Linked DNA regions of Homo sapiens: all the other regions are linked to region 2. The links are contacts of gene promoters, found by promoter capture Hi-C in human tissues and cell types (Jung and others, 2019). All regions are on one chromosome and are shown on one strand. Each heading gives the region's core, a stretch centred on a gene start or on the middle of the fragment in contact. The rest is flanking DNA. Distances are from core to core; before and after follow the strand shown.

Region 1 (4,113 bases), core at 570-3,069, 400 kb before region 2:
GCTGGGCATGTGGTGGGCACCTGTAGTCCCAGCTCCTCGGGAGGCTGAGGCGGGAGAATTGCTTGAACCTGGGAGGCGGAGGTTGCAGTGAGCCTAGACTGTGCCACTGCACTCCAGTCTGGGCGACAGAGCGAGATTCCATCTCAAAAAAAAAAAAAAAATTAAATTCCTTCTCCCCCAAGCACAAGTCTGTGGGACTTTTTCACATCTTTAAGTTTTGTTACAAAAGTGTTGTGTTTACTATAACAAATTTTAATAGTAGAAAAGTTAGAGCCGGGCACGGTGGCTCACGCCTGTAATCCCAGCACTTTGGGAGGCCAAGGTGGGCGGATCACGAGGTCGGGAGATCGAGACCATCCTGGCCAACACGGTGAAACCCCATCTCTACTAAAAATACAAAAAAATTAGCCGGGCGTGGTGTTGGGCGCCTGTAGTCCCAGCTACTCTGGAGGCTGAGGCAGGAGAACGGCGTGAACCTGGGAGGCGGAGCCTGCAGTGAGCCAAGATCGCCACCACACTCCAGCCTGGGCGACAGAGCGAGACTCCGTCTCCAAAAAAAAAAAAAAAGAAACCGAAACCCTGGCCTAACCCAAGCACGCACTCCAGATGCTCTACGGGGGCCAGAGTGGGGCCTGAATGGCCGGGGGGTCGCCCTGGGTTGATGGGGGACACAGAGTCCACCTGAGCGCCAGAGCTGCGCTTCAGGAATGACTGTGGGCCCTGTCCCCAGGCAGGTACGTGAGCTTCACAGAACGCAGGGACAGGCCTCTGGCCATGGCCAGCCTTGGAGAAGCCACTCTGACCTCAGCCCCTCCCTGTGCACCTGTGTGTGGTCTGCCCGCTGCCTGGCGCCTCATTCCAGGGCTGCCCAGCTGGTCCCCAGAGTTCTCCCAGGGCTCCCACCCTGATATCCTCCTAACTGGGGCCAGGCCTGGGGACACCCCTCTACCCCATCCTCTTGCCTAAATCTCCCCCAGGAGCCCAGTACCTGCTCAACAGATACCCAGGATGTCCCCCACTTCCTGCCTTAACTGGGCTCTCTTCCCTGCAGACCTTGCCTCCCCAGGCCTTGGAGACCCACCCTCCTGGTGTCCTCCTCTCTTCCTAGTGGACCTCAGGCTGCAGGTGACCTTGACCCTCCTGTGACCTCTGCTGCCTCAGCCCTGCCCCCTTGCTGCCATCCTTTACCTTCACAGACAGCCTTGGAACCCCATCTCTCCAGAGGATGCCACCGTCCATACTGTCCCCTACCCCATCTCACCTGGGCACCCTTGAGGGTGGCAGGGAGTGAGGGTGGCATGGACACAGGCTGCCCATTCTGCAGATCTTTTTTTGTTTTTTGAGACGGAGTCTCGCTCTGTCGCCAGGCTGGAGTGCAGTGGCGCAATTTTAGCTCACCGAAACCCGCCTCCTGACTTCAAGTGATTCTCCTGCCTCAGCCTCCTGAGTAGCTGGCACTACAGGCACGCACCACCATGCCCAGCTAATTTTTGTATTTTTAGTAGAGACTAGGTTTCACCATGTTGGTCAGGATGGCCTCAATCTCTTGACTTTGTGATCTGCCCGCCTCGGCCTCCCAAAGTGCTGGGATCATAGGTGTGAGCTACCAAGCCCAGCCTCTTTTTTTTTTTTTTGAAACCGAGTTTCGCTCTTGTTGCCCAGGCTGGAGTGCAATGGCGCGATCTTGGCTCACTGCAACCTCTGCCTCTCGGGTTCAAGCAATTCTCCTGCCTCAGTCTCCCGAGTAGCTGGGATTACAGGTGTGCACCACCACACCCGGCTAATTTTTTTGTATTTTAAGTAGAAATGGGGTTTCACCATGTTGGCCAGGCTGGTCTTGAACTCCTGACCTCTGGTGATCCACTCACCTCGGCCTCCCAAAGTGCTGGGATTACAGGCGTGAGCCACTGTGCCCAGCTCTGCAGATCTTTTTTGGACGGAGTCTCGCTCTGTTGCCCAGGCTGGGGTGCAGTGGTGCAATCTCAGCTTACTGCAGTCTCCACCTCCTAGGCTCAAACGATCCTCCTGCCTCAGCTTCCTGAGGAGCTGGGACCACAGGTGTGCACCACCGTGCCTGCCTAATTTTTTTGCATTTTTGGTAGAGACAGGGTTTCAACATGTTGCCCAGGCCAGTCTCGAACTCCTGAGCTCAAGTGATCCTCCCAGCACAGCCTCCCAATGTGATGGGATAATTGACATGAGCCACCACACCTGGCCCCGTTCTACTGATCTTGAGCTGAGACTGACCTGCAGGGCCACAGGACACCCCACGAGCTCAGCAGCACCCCTTGTGCTCACACAGGCCTACGCGGCTGTAGGCTGGACCCTGGCTTGGCCTCACCCTTGGGACATGAAGGGCTGGCCGGGGTGAGGCTAGACCATGAGGGCTCTGACAAGAGGACCAAGCACCGGGGCCCCGAGCCTGCCCCGCTGGAGACTGAGGCCACCTCTGCCCGCAGGTCTCTGAAGGTCGGCCTGCAGATCTCCCTGGACTACTGGTGGTGCACCAATGTTGTCCTTCGAGGGGTGGAAGAGGTTTGTCCTGGTGCCCTGGGCACACAGTGGTGGGCATGAGGTGGTGGGCTGGGTGGGACTGAGGAGGCAGCCACCTGTCCCCATGTGTTCTCCCCATGCCTGTGGTCAGAACAGCCCAGGCTACTTGGAGGTGATGTCTGCGTGTCACCAGCGGGCGGCTGATGCCCTGGTGGCAGGGGCCATCAGCAACGGGGGCCTCTACGTGAAGCTGGGCCAGGGGCTGTGCTCCTTCAACCACCTGCTTCCCCCCGAGTATACCCGGACCCTGCGCGTGCTAGAGGACAGGGCCCTCAAGCGGGGCTTCCAGGAGGTGAGTGTGCGCTCAGGCCGAGGGAGGTGGGGCCTCCAGCAGTGGCCCCAGGCTGCTCTGAGCACCTGTCCTTCCAGGTGGATGAGTTGTTCCTTGAGGACTTCCAGGCCCTCCCCCACGAGCTCTTCCAGGAGTTTGACTACCAGCCAATTGCTGCCGCCAGCCTGGCACAGGTGCACAGAGCCAAGCTGCACGATGGCACCAGCGTGGCTGTGAAGGTATATGGGGGCTGCCTTGTTCAGCAGTGGGCTGGGGCGGGGCACAGTGGGGCCCCAAGTTCTCACCACACCCTCGCCCAGTGCAGGTGCAGTACATCGACCTGCGGGACCGCTTTGATGGGGACATCCACACCCTGGAGCTCCTGCTGCGGCTCGTTGAGGTCATGCACCCCAGCTTTGGCTTCAGCTGGGTCCTCCAGGTACAGCCCCACCCCTTCCCCGGCCAGCAGGAGCAAACACGTAGGCAGAGCTGGTAGGAGCAGCTGGTAGGCAGAGCTGGTCTTCAACCGCCATCTGGCCCCCAGGACCTGAAGGGGACCCTGGCCCAGGAGCTGGACTTCGAGAATGAGGGCCGCAACGCAGAGCGCTGTGCGCGGGAGCTGGCGCACTTCCCCTACGTCGTGGTGCCCCGCGTGCACTGGGACAAGTCCAGCAAGGTGGGCTGGGCCAGGCCCTTGGGGTGGGCACAGCGCTGGGCCTGCTGAGCCCAGCCTCTTGCTCTCCCCAGCGCGTGCTCACTGCCGACTTCTGCGCCGGCTGCAAGGTCAACGATGTGGAGGCCATCAGGAGCCAGGGGCTGGCAGTGCATGACGTGAGTGCGGGGGGGCGGGGGCGGGTCAGGGCGGGCTGGTGCTGTGTCCACTGCAATGCCTCTCCTCTCCCCAGATAGCAGAAAAGCTCATCAAGGCCTTTGCTGAGCAGATATTTTACACCGGCTTCATCCACTCGGACCCACATCCTGGCAACGGTAGGAATTTACCCCAGGGGTGGGGGTCTCAGGGTGGGCGCAGCGCGACCTAAGAGGCTGTATCCCTAGTTCTGGTGCGGAAAGGCCCGGACGGGAAAGCGGAGCTGGTGCTGCTGGACCACGGGCTCTACCAGTTCCTGGAGGAGAAGTGAGCGCGGGTGGGTGGGCGTGGGGCAGGGCAAGCCTCTCCTGCCGCAGGGAGCTCATGGCTGCGGGCCCATCCACACCCAGGGACCGCGCAGCCCTCTGCCAGCTGTGGCGGGCCATCATCCTGCGGGACGACGCCGCCATGAGGGCGCACG
Region 2 (4,290 bases), core at 1,110-3,609:
ACAAAAATTAGCCAACGTGGTGGTGTGAGCCTGTGGTTCCAGTCAAAACCTCAGGTGGCTGAGGTAGAAGAATCGTTTGAGAGTGGGAGATGGAGGCTGCAGGGAGCCAAGATGGTGTCACTGCACTCCAGCCTTAGCCAGACCCTGCCAAAAAAAAAAAAAAAAAAAAAAAGAAAAAGGATTCTGTACAAGACACCACAAAGATAAAAGGCAAGCAGACAAGCTGCAGAGTGAAAGATATTTGCAGACACATAACAAAGTATAAATATACAGAATATATTTAAAACATTTTTAAATTAGAAAAATGTCACAATTTTTAATAAATGAACACAGGATATGACCTGGCAAACCCTGTAGTCCCAGCTACTCAGAAGGCTGAGGCAGGAGGATCACTTGAATCTAGGAGTTCTGGGCTGTAGTGCTGCTGTGCCAATTGGGTGTCCCCACTAAGTTCGGCATCAATATGGTGACATCCGGGGAGCAGGAGACCACCATATTGCCTAAGGAAGGGTGAATCAGCTCAGGTGGGAAACAGGGCAGGTCAAAACTCCTGTGCTGATCAGTAGTGGGATCACGCCTGCGAGTGGCCACTGCACTCTAGCCTGAGCAACATAGTGAGAACCCCATCTCTAATTTTTTAATTAAGAAAAAATGTAAAGTAAAACAAGACTCTCCCCACAGATTGGGGAAATATAAAATACTTCATAATACCAAATGTTCAGAACACTGTAAACTGGTAGACACTCTAGAAATATGTCTGGCCCTACCTGGTAGAACTGAAACCCTGCAAAACTCTCAGTGGGGAAACCCCACTCGAAGTATGTACTTTATGGAGACTCTTGCTAATGCACACAAAAAGAAACACAAAAATGTTACCATGTGCCTGTGTAGAAGAAGAAAAAACTTCAGCGTCCATCAGCAAAGTCAGAGTGGTGGAAAGTAATGTCAAGGAGATAGAGCACAGTTATAAGGCTGAGAAAAACTGTCAGGTACAGAATATACACAGTATAATACATAGGTAGTTTTTTTTTTTTTTTTTTTTTTTGAGACGGAGTCTTGCTCCATCACCCAGGCTGGAGAGCAGTGGCGGGATCTTGGCTCACTGCAAGCTCCGCCTCCCGAGTTGACGTCATTCTCCTGCCTCAGCCTCCCAAGTAGCTGGGACTACAGGCGCCCGCTACCACGCCCGGCTAATTTTTTTGTATTTTTTAGTAGAGACGGGGTTTCACTGGGTTAGCCAGGATGGTCTCGATCTCCAGACCTAGTGATCCCCCCCGCGCCTTGGCCTCCCAAAGTGCTGGGATTGCAGGCGTGAGCCACCGTGCTCTGCCATACATATGTAGATTTTTAAGAGACAAAAACAGTATTAGGTTTGTAGAGATATAAGAAAACGAGGCCGGGCGCAGTGGCTCACGCCTGTATTCCCAGCACTCTGGGAGGCTGGGGCGGGCAGATCACTTGAGGTCAGGAGTTCGAGACCAGCCTGGCCAACATGGTTAAACCCCATCTCTACTAAAAATACAAAAATTAGCTGGGCATGGTGGCGGGCGCCTGTAATCCCAGGTATTCGGGAGGCTGAGACAGGAGAATCCCTTGAACTCGGGAGGCGGAAGGTGCATTGAGCCGAGATCGCGCCATCGTACTCCAGCCTGGGCGACAGAGCGAGACTCCGTCTCAGAAAAAGAGAGAGAGAAAGGAAAGAAGGAAGAGAAGAGAAAAGAAAAGAAAGAAAAAATAAAGAAGAGAAACAAAAATCTGGCTGCCTGGCTGCGGGGAGAAAAGCCTTGGAGCGCCAGAAGCGAGGAGGGTGGGGCGGAGGGAAGGCACAAGCAGAGGGAGGAGCACTGGCGGAGCGCGGACGCTAAAGGCAGGAGGGGCGGCATTCGCAGAGGGCTGGGAGGACCGCGAGACGCACGAGCCCCGCCCCTGAAAAGCTGACAGGAGAGGAGCGTGGGAGGGAGCCGGGATGGGAAGCCTCGGGCCGCTGGGACCAAGGGGTCTGGAGCGCATCGGGACGCAGAAGCCGCTCTGTGCGGCAGGAGTCCAGGGGACCCCGCGTGGGGCAAGGGAGTTGTCAGGGGCTCGAGAGCGGAAGGAGCCCCGTGAGGAGCGACCCCAGGGCTGGCAGAGAGCGGCGAGGCGCAGTCCGTACTCGGGGCCTTGTCCGGGGGGTCCCTCGAACAGGAAGTGCCGCTGATGGCGGGACGGACCCACGCCTGCAGCACCGCGAGAGGACCGGGCACAGGGGCAACGCGCAGGGGAGGGTCTGCGCCGGGAGGGTCTGCGCCCCGCGCGCCCGCCCCCGCCGGGCTCACACTCACCTCAGCGCCGCCGAGCAGCACGGCAGCCCAACCTCGCCCGTTCGGCCCTCCCTCCCCGCCAATCGGAACCGATCCGGAAGTGACGTCAGCCGACTGTCTGGGTCCGAGGCGCCGTCCGGGCCGCTCTGGGAAGCTAGGACGCCGCGTGTCGGCTGCCCACCTCCCTGGCTTGCAGTAAGGCTCCGGGGACCCGCGAATGGCAAAGCCGTAAAGCGGGAATGCTGCCACCGGGTGGCAGTCCGAAGCCACGGCCCAGAGGCCTCAGAACTGGGGCGATGGTCAGAGGCGAAAACATATTAGTCTTTCCCTTTTTCTGAGAAATTCTCTCCCTAATGATGCACGAAAGGCGCCGCAAACAAGAACTAGGCCCTTCGATTTACAGAGAAACGGGAACCGCACCCTTCCTTAGGGCCAAGAAAGGATGCTTACTGGCCAAAGAAGCCTGTCTTGGGTTTAACCTATTGCTCCTCATCCTTAACTCCTGTAAATGGGGCCCAGTGTCCACTCTGGAGAAAGGGTTTTTCGGGTGCCTGAGCTGCTTCTGGAACAAACTTTCCCTCATGGCCGGTCCATCGGCCAAGCCCTGCCGTCCACTTTGCCCAGAAGGGAGCAGAAAAACAGTGACCGCTTATGGCCAAGCTAAGCATCTAGTGCTTTCCCAAAACCCTCTTTCCAGATGCCCCTCCATCCTTCAGGAGGAAACACCGCCCTCCTGGATTCTTTCTCGACAAGTCAGCTGGGACCCTGGGACCGGCCCTGCGAATGACGAGATCAAAACCAGGTCCCGTAGTTACTGGCGGGGAGGCGGGGCTGGAGTGGGAGGACCACATGAGGCCAGGGGCTTGAGACCAGCCTGGCAATAGCGAGAGCCTGTCTAAAATAAACAGGCCCTGCTGGGTCACTGCCTAGGTGTGGTGGGCGCCCAAAGACAGGTGGGGCCATACCAGCAGGATCAGGAAAGCAAGATCACGAAATGGGGGGTAAGGTTCTCTAGAGACAGCGTGGACCATGACAGCCAGGAACCACCGCGCAGCCAGTTAGGACTTGTCATCCCGGAGTGACCACGGAAGCCTAAGGTGACTATTCTCACCTGCCAGGCACCCTCCAACCAAGTCTATAGGGAGAGACCGTGCCTCATCCTGCCTGCTGCAGTTCCACAGGAGTGTTGTTAGGGGCAGTGATCTGCAGCTGCTGCATTCGCTGGTGGAACTTCCTCGTGTGAAAGTGCTGATAGGATGCTGTCCTGGGATCTCCTCATTGGATCATGGTTAAGGGACAAGATGCCATGGGCTATGGCCAAACAGGAAGCCCCTCCACTCTGCCTTGTGACGGAAACCAGCTTACTTGCCCTCCCATTGCAGGGGGGGTTCCCCAACACTTCCAACCTGATTCCACTCAATCATCACTGTCAGCCTCATCACTACCAAAGCTAGAGAGAACCAAAGTATCAGCCCCTGCCAGCAGGGAAAGGCCATGTGCTTTAAGGTAATCAATGCAGCTTTGGGGGCTGTTCCTGGTTAGTTTCTCTGCCCCAGGGAAGAGGGGGCTACATGCCCTGCGAAGCTGTGGAGTTACAGGACTCAAGGAGCAGACCAACCTACTGCTGGTGCCAGCTCCAGTCCAGTGTAGGGCTCTGGGTGGGTGGGTGAAGGGACTTGGGTGGTCTGGGATTCCCCATACACACACTGCATGCATTCATCCCTTTGTTCAGCAATCCCAGCAGTGACCTGGGACCCCACACTCAATCACCACCCTCAACCTCACCTGTCACTATCAGGCTAGAAAATGAGGAAAGGCATGAGGCCCCACCCACCACCCACAGGAAAAAGCACCCAGAACCCTCCAGTCAGTGACCACTCCCCACCATGGCGGGGTGGGAATGCATGCAGAACAGAATGGTAAAAGCCAGGCTAGGAATGGCTTCCTGGCTGTAGACAGGGTGCCTGTCCCACATTCCTTCAGGGCCCAT
Region 3 (3,729 bases), core at 37-2,536, 270 kb after region 2:
GGCCTCCCAAAGTGTTGGGATTACAGGCGTGAGTCACCGCGCCCGGCCAATCCGCCGAATTTTGGGAGTAATGTATCACACTGCAGTAAATAACTATCAGTGATGACCAAACTGTAACCCTTCGAGACCTTGCAGACCAGGCAGCTAACACTTCCCACCCCACCGTCTCAGGAAACACCGCTTTCCACTCCTGTGTCCCCGAAAGGAATCATCAGACATCTCGGACTCTTACCTTCTCAAGCAACACAACCCACCCTCCTGGCATAGCCCGTTGCCCCCCTGAAACCCTACTCAGCCTCACCTCAACCCCTACGCAATTCCTCTCGGTTGTCATGCCTCCATCGGCGGGGGTCGAGTGTTGTGTGTGACCCCAGGTCTCTAGCAAGGTATAGTGGGAGGGAAGCATCCAGGGGAAGAGAGGTGGTGGGATGGGGCTCTCCCTCTCCCCCATACCGCCACCCTCCCTCACGTCCATATCCTGTCCAAGGCTCTTCCCGCGTCTGCTTCTGAAACCCCTCCACGTCCCTCCACCCCATGTGCCCCACTCGTTACACAAGAGCAGAGAGATCTGCAGAACATACGTCTACGATTATGCCACTCTTCAGATTTACATCTTGCAGCGACTTCCCACTGCGTTAGAACGGAAGTAAGCCCATGACGGGGGCCCTCCCAACTCTCAGACCTCACCCGAGCCTCCACGTCCCGAGACGCCGGCCTCTCAAACGACCGCGCCCTGACCCTCGCTCTTCCCCATTTCCCAGGGTCTTTGCCGACCACCCTCTTGCGCCGTAGCTGCTCACGTGCTGTTTACTTGCTTTTCCCTCCCCACCAAAAGGTGAGCCTTGAGAAGACACACCCTCGTGGAGAGCTTTGAACTTTTATCCGGAAAGGTGCCGGGCACGTAGTCAGCGCCCGCGATCACTCGCTCACAAGGGTTCTTCCGAGACCCCTCTTCAGCCTCTTCCCCGAACCCCCAGGCCCCGCCCCAGCCCCATCTCAGCTTCGTCCCAGGCGCGTCCCAGCTTCGCCCCGTCCCAGCTTCATCCCACCCCAGCCGCGCCCCGCCCCGCCCGCTCCCCGCCCCGCCCGCGCCCCGCCCGCGCCCCGCCCCGCCCGCGCCCCGCCCGCGCCCCGCCCGCGCCCCGCCCGCGCCCCGCCCGCGCCCCGCCCGCGCCCCGCCCGCGCCCCGCCCGCGCCCCGCCCGCGCCCCGCCCGCGCCCCGCGGAACCTAGAGTCGCAGGCGCGTTCTTGAAGGACGGAATTCGGCGTCGGACTCTGCGCCCCGCGTAGTTCCGGTGGCGACTGCGGCGCATGGCGGTGAGCGGTGTGGAGAAGACGCGCGGGTGGCTGGGCCTTGCATTGTTGGCGGCTCTCGGTGACCCTCGTGCTACCCCCCTTTCTCCAGGCCCTGGGACATCTTGCTGGGGAGGCAGCGGCGGCCCCAGGCCCGGGTACTCCCTGCGCGTCCCGCGGAGCCCGGCTTCCCGGCCCAGTTTCCAGCGCCCGGAATCCTTCCACTGTCTGTCTCTGCCCAGAGCAACCTACGTGCAGTAACGCTGACTCCAGAGCGCACCCGTTGGGCGATGAAGGCGGCACAGCGTCGAAAAAACAAAAGAATAAGAAGAAAACGCGGAACAGGGCCTCTGTGGCAAATGGAGGCGAGAAGGCCTCAGAGAAACTCGCCCCAGAAGAAGTTCCCCTAAGCGCTGAGGCCCAGGCAAGGGCGGGCTTCGGTCGGGAAGGGTGGAATCCACGGGTGCGAATCCACGGGCACGTGTGATCTGGGGTCCGCGGAGTTAAGGCGGGGAGGGGCATGGGATGGGGCCGGCGGCTATGGTTTTCCAGTGCCCTCTCACAGCCACTTCCCCAAATCCATCACAGGCACAACAGTTGGCCCAGGAATTGGCTTGGTGTGTGGAGCAACTGGAGCTGGGCCTCAAGAGGCAGAAACCCACCCCGAAACAGAGTAAGGGACCCTTCTGTAGAGCTGGGGGATGTGAACAGTGGCACTGCCTGGCCTGCAGGTGCTGGCAGAGTATGGAGTTGTTGGCTTTGCGGCGGGGTGGTAGGAGGTCAGTAATAGAGGTGTTCACTAGTCCTTTATTTTTATTCGCAGAAGAGCAGGCTATTGGAGCAATCCGAACCCTGCGCAGCAAAAGAACGCCCTTGCCCCGGAAGAGGCAGCTGATGCACTCCTTGTTTGGAGACTATAGGGCTCAGATGGAAGCCGAATGGCGTGAGGCCCTGCGGGCTCTCAGAGCTGGTGAGGAGCTAGCCACTGGTTGATTCAGGAAGGCCTAACTTAAGGAGGAAGTGTCTAGGGGGTGAAAGGAAGAAGGCCCAGAGCAACAAGCCTGGTGGGGGAAGGAGATGGGCTCAGGGAAGCCTGAGGGAGCAGGGAAACAGAAAGCGTGGACCTCTCTTTCCTCTTCCTAGGACTGAACCTGGGAAGCAGCGGGGAGGCCCTGGGAGGAGTGGGAAAGAGCATGGTCCTATGTTGGTCCTGCTCCTGGGTTGGGGAAAGCTGCCTCATGTCTTTGTGTCTTGGCTTTCTCTACTAGCAATGAAGCCATATCCCATAACAGTTTGAGTGCAATTCCTGGGGCCAGATCAGCTAGGTTCAAATCCTGGATCTACCACATAGTAGTACTAACACCTTTTGCAAACTACTGAACCTCTCTAAGTGGGGGATGATAGTAATATCAACCTTACAAATTTGAGGAATTAATCAGTTAATTTATGCAAGGTGGTTAGAATTGTATGGGCAAACATAACTGTACAGGTAATGTTAATTGTTATTATTCAGTTCTGACATACGCTGCTTCTCTCCCCGACAGCTGCTTATTCAGCCCAGGTGCAACCTGTAGATGGAGCCACCAGAAAGAAGAGCCAAAGGGTCTGCAGGCCTCGCTCTATATGGAGAGCCAAAGCCACTCTGGACATGCCTGATGAAGAGTTTAGGTTCAATTTCTTTTAGCGTCTCCCCGAACCTGAAACAATCCCCCTCCCTTGGGGTGGTGTAGGGGTTTGTTTTGAGTGCAGAGCCTTTCCAGGACTTCTGTTGTCAGAGAACCCTGGAGTTGGTCTGTCCCTGGCTGGTCCAAGGATTTGTAGCTGTTGTGAAGGTGTGAGACCATCAGATAGGCAAAAGACCCCGTTCGTTTTCTGATGAAATGTTCTCTCTTTCAGAAGAGAGAGAGAGGTGCATTTAGAAAATATGCAATAAATTGAAGTGAGTGTTCAAAGTATTGTAGAAGGAATATTGTACTCAGTCTTTAGGATTAGATTAAGTGGCTGTTGGTAACAAAGATTAGTGGAGAAGCTGTATAATCGTACACTGGTTTTCACTTTTGAAAGGAATCCCTGTCAAATGGTTTAGTGCTTAATGCTGTTATGTCATATTGCCCTAATCTCTATTTTTGATAAAATTGGATAAGGAGTGAAAGAGTATGCTGACCACCTATGTTAGAGGAAGTACAGAAGATGCAGGGGTGTGGTATCCCTGGGTCCAGTCCCTCACCTGGTACCTTTGTGCATGTTGCCTTCATTCCTGAGCAGGTATCATCCTCAGGGAACCAGCATGGCACCTACCAGGCCAGGCTCTGTTCTTAGGAGCAAGGAGCTTCTTGCGCTAACAGTTCTGGCCTGAGACCTGGATTGAGCCTTGGCAGACTTCTTGTCTAAATGTTGGCCATTCAGTCTCAGGCCCTCTGTTCCATGGAATTGGGA

What was found. The method cuts DNA at HindIII sites, captures the fragments that hold promoters and counts their contacts. A contact is called where the count stands out against the background at its distance.
Region 1: a contact is called between a fragment that was not itself captured here and the fragment with the promoter of ZNF34 in region 2, in 2 of the 25 tissues and cell types used here (lymphoblastoid cells and spleen).
Region 3: the fragment with the promoter of C8orf33 here is called in contact with the fragment with the promoter of ZNF34 in region 2 in 3 of the 25 tissues and cell types used here (aorta, lymphoblastoid cells and small bowel).

Annotation. Positions count from the first base shown.
Region 1 is chr8:144,388,212-144,392,324 of GRCh38, forward strand. It overlaps ADCK5 (aarF domain containing kinase 5), which reads left to right. Exons shown (of 15, transcript NM_174922.5): 4 at 2,460-2,535; 5 at 2,645-2,845; 6 at 2,923-3,063; 7 at 3,150-3,263; 8 at 3,369-3,500; 9 at 3,572-3,655; 10 at 3,730-3,811; 11 at 3,881-3,959; 12 at 4,043-4,113. Among named protein-coding and RNA genes, the nearest start is that of MIR939, 4.0 kb to the right of the region's middle. RefSeq lists an enhancer at 238-739. The HindIII fragment of the contact is 8,607 bases long and covers 1-4,113 here.
Region 2 is chr8:144,784,958-144,789,247 of GRCh38, forward strand. It overlaps ZNF34 (zinc finger protein 34), which reads right to left and starts at 2,360. Exons shown (of 6, transcript NM_001286769.2): 1 at 2,322-2,360. It also overlaps the pseudogene RN7SL395P. RefSeq lists a silencer at 2,089-2,448 and enhancers at 2,599-2,828, 2,869-2,928. The HindIII fragment of the contact is 13,629 bases long and covers 1-4,290 here.
Region 3 is chr8:145,051,181-145,054,909 of GRCh38, forward strand. It overlaps C8orf33 (chromosome 8 open reading frame 33), which reads left to right and starts at 1,287. Exons shown (of 5, transcript NM_023080.3): 1 at 1,287-1,317; 2 at 1,406-1,717; 3 at 1,882-1,966; 4 at 2,117-2,263; 5 at 2,838-3,729. The coding sequence starts at 1,312. The coding sequence ends at 2,977. RefSeq lists enhancers at 713-842, 883-932, 1,861-2,661 and a silencer at 1,143-1,212. The HindIII fragment of the contact is 15,142 bases long and covers 1-3,729 here.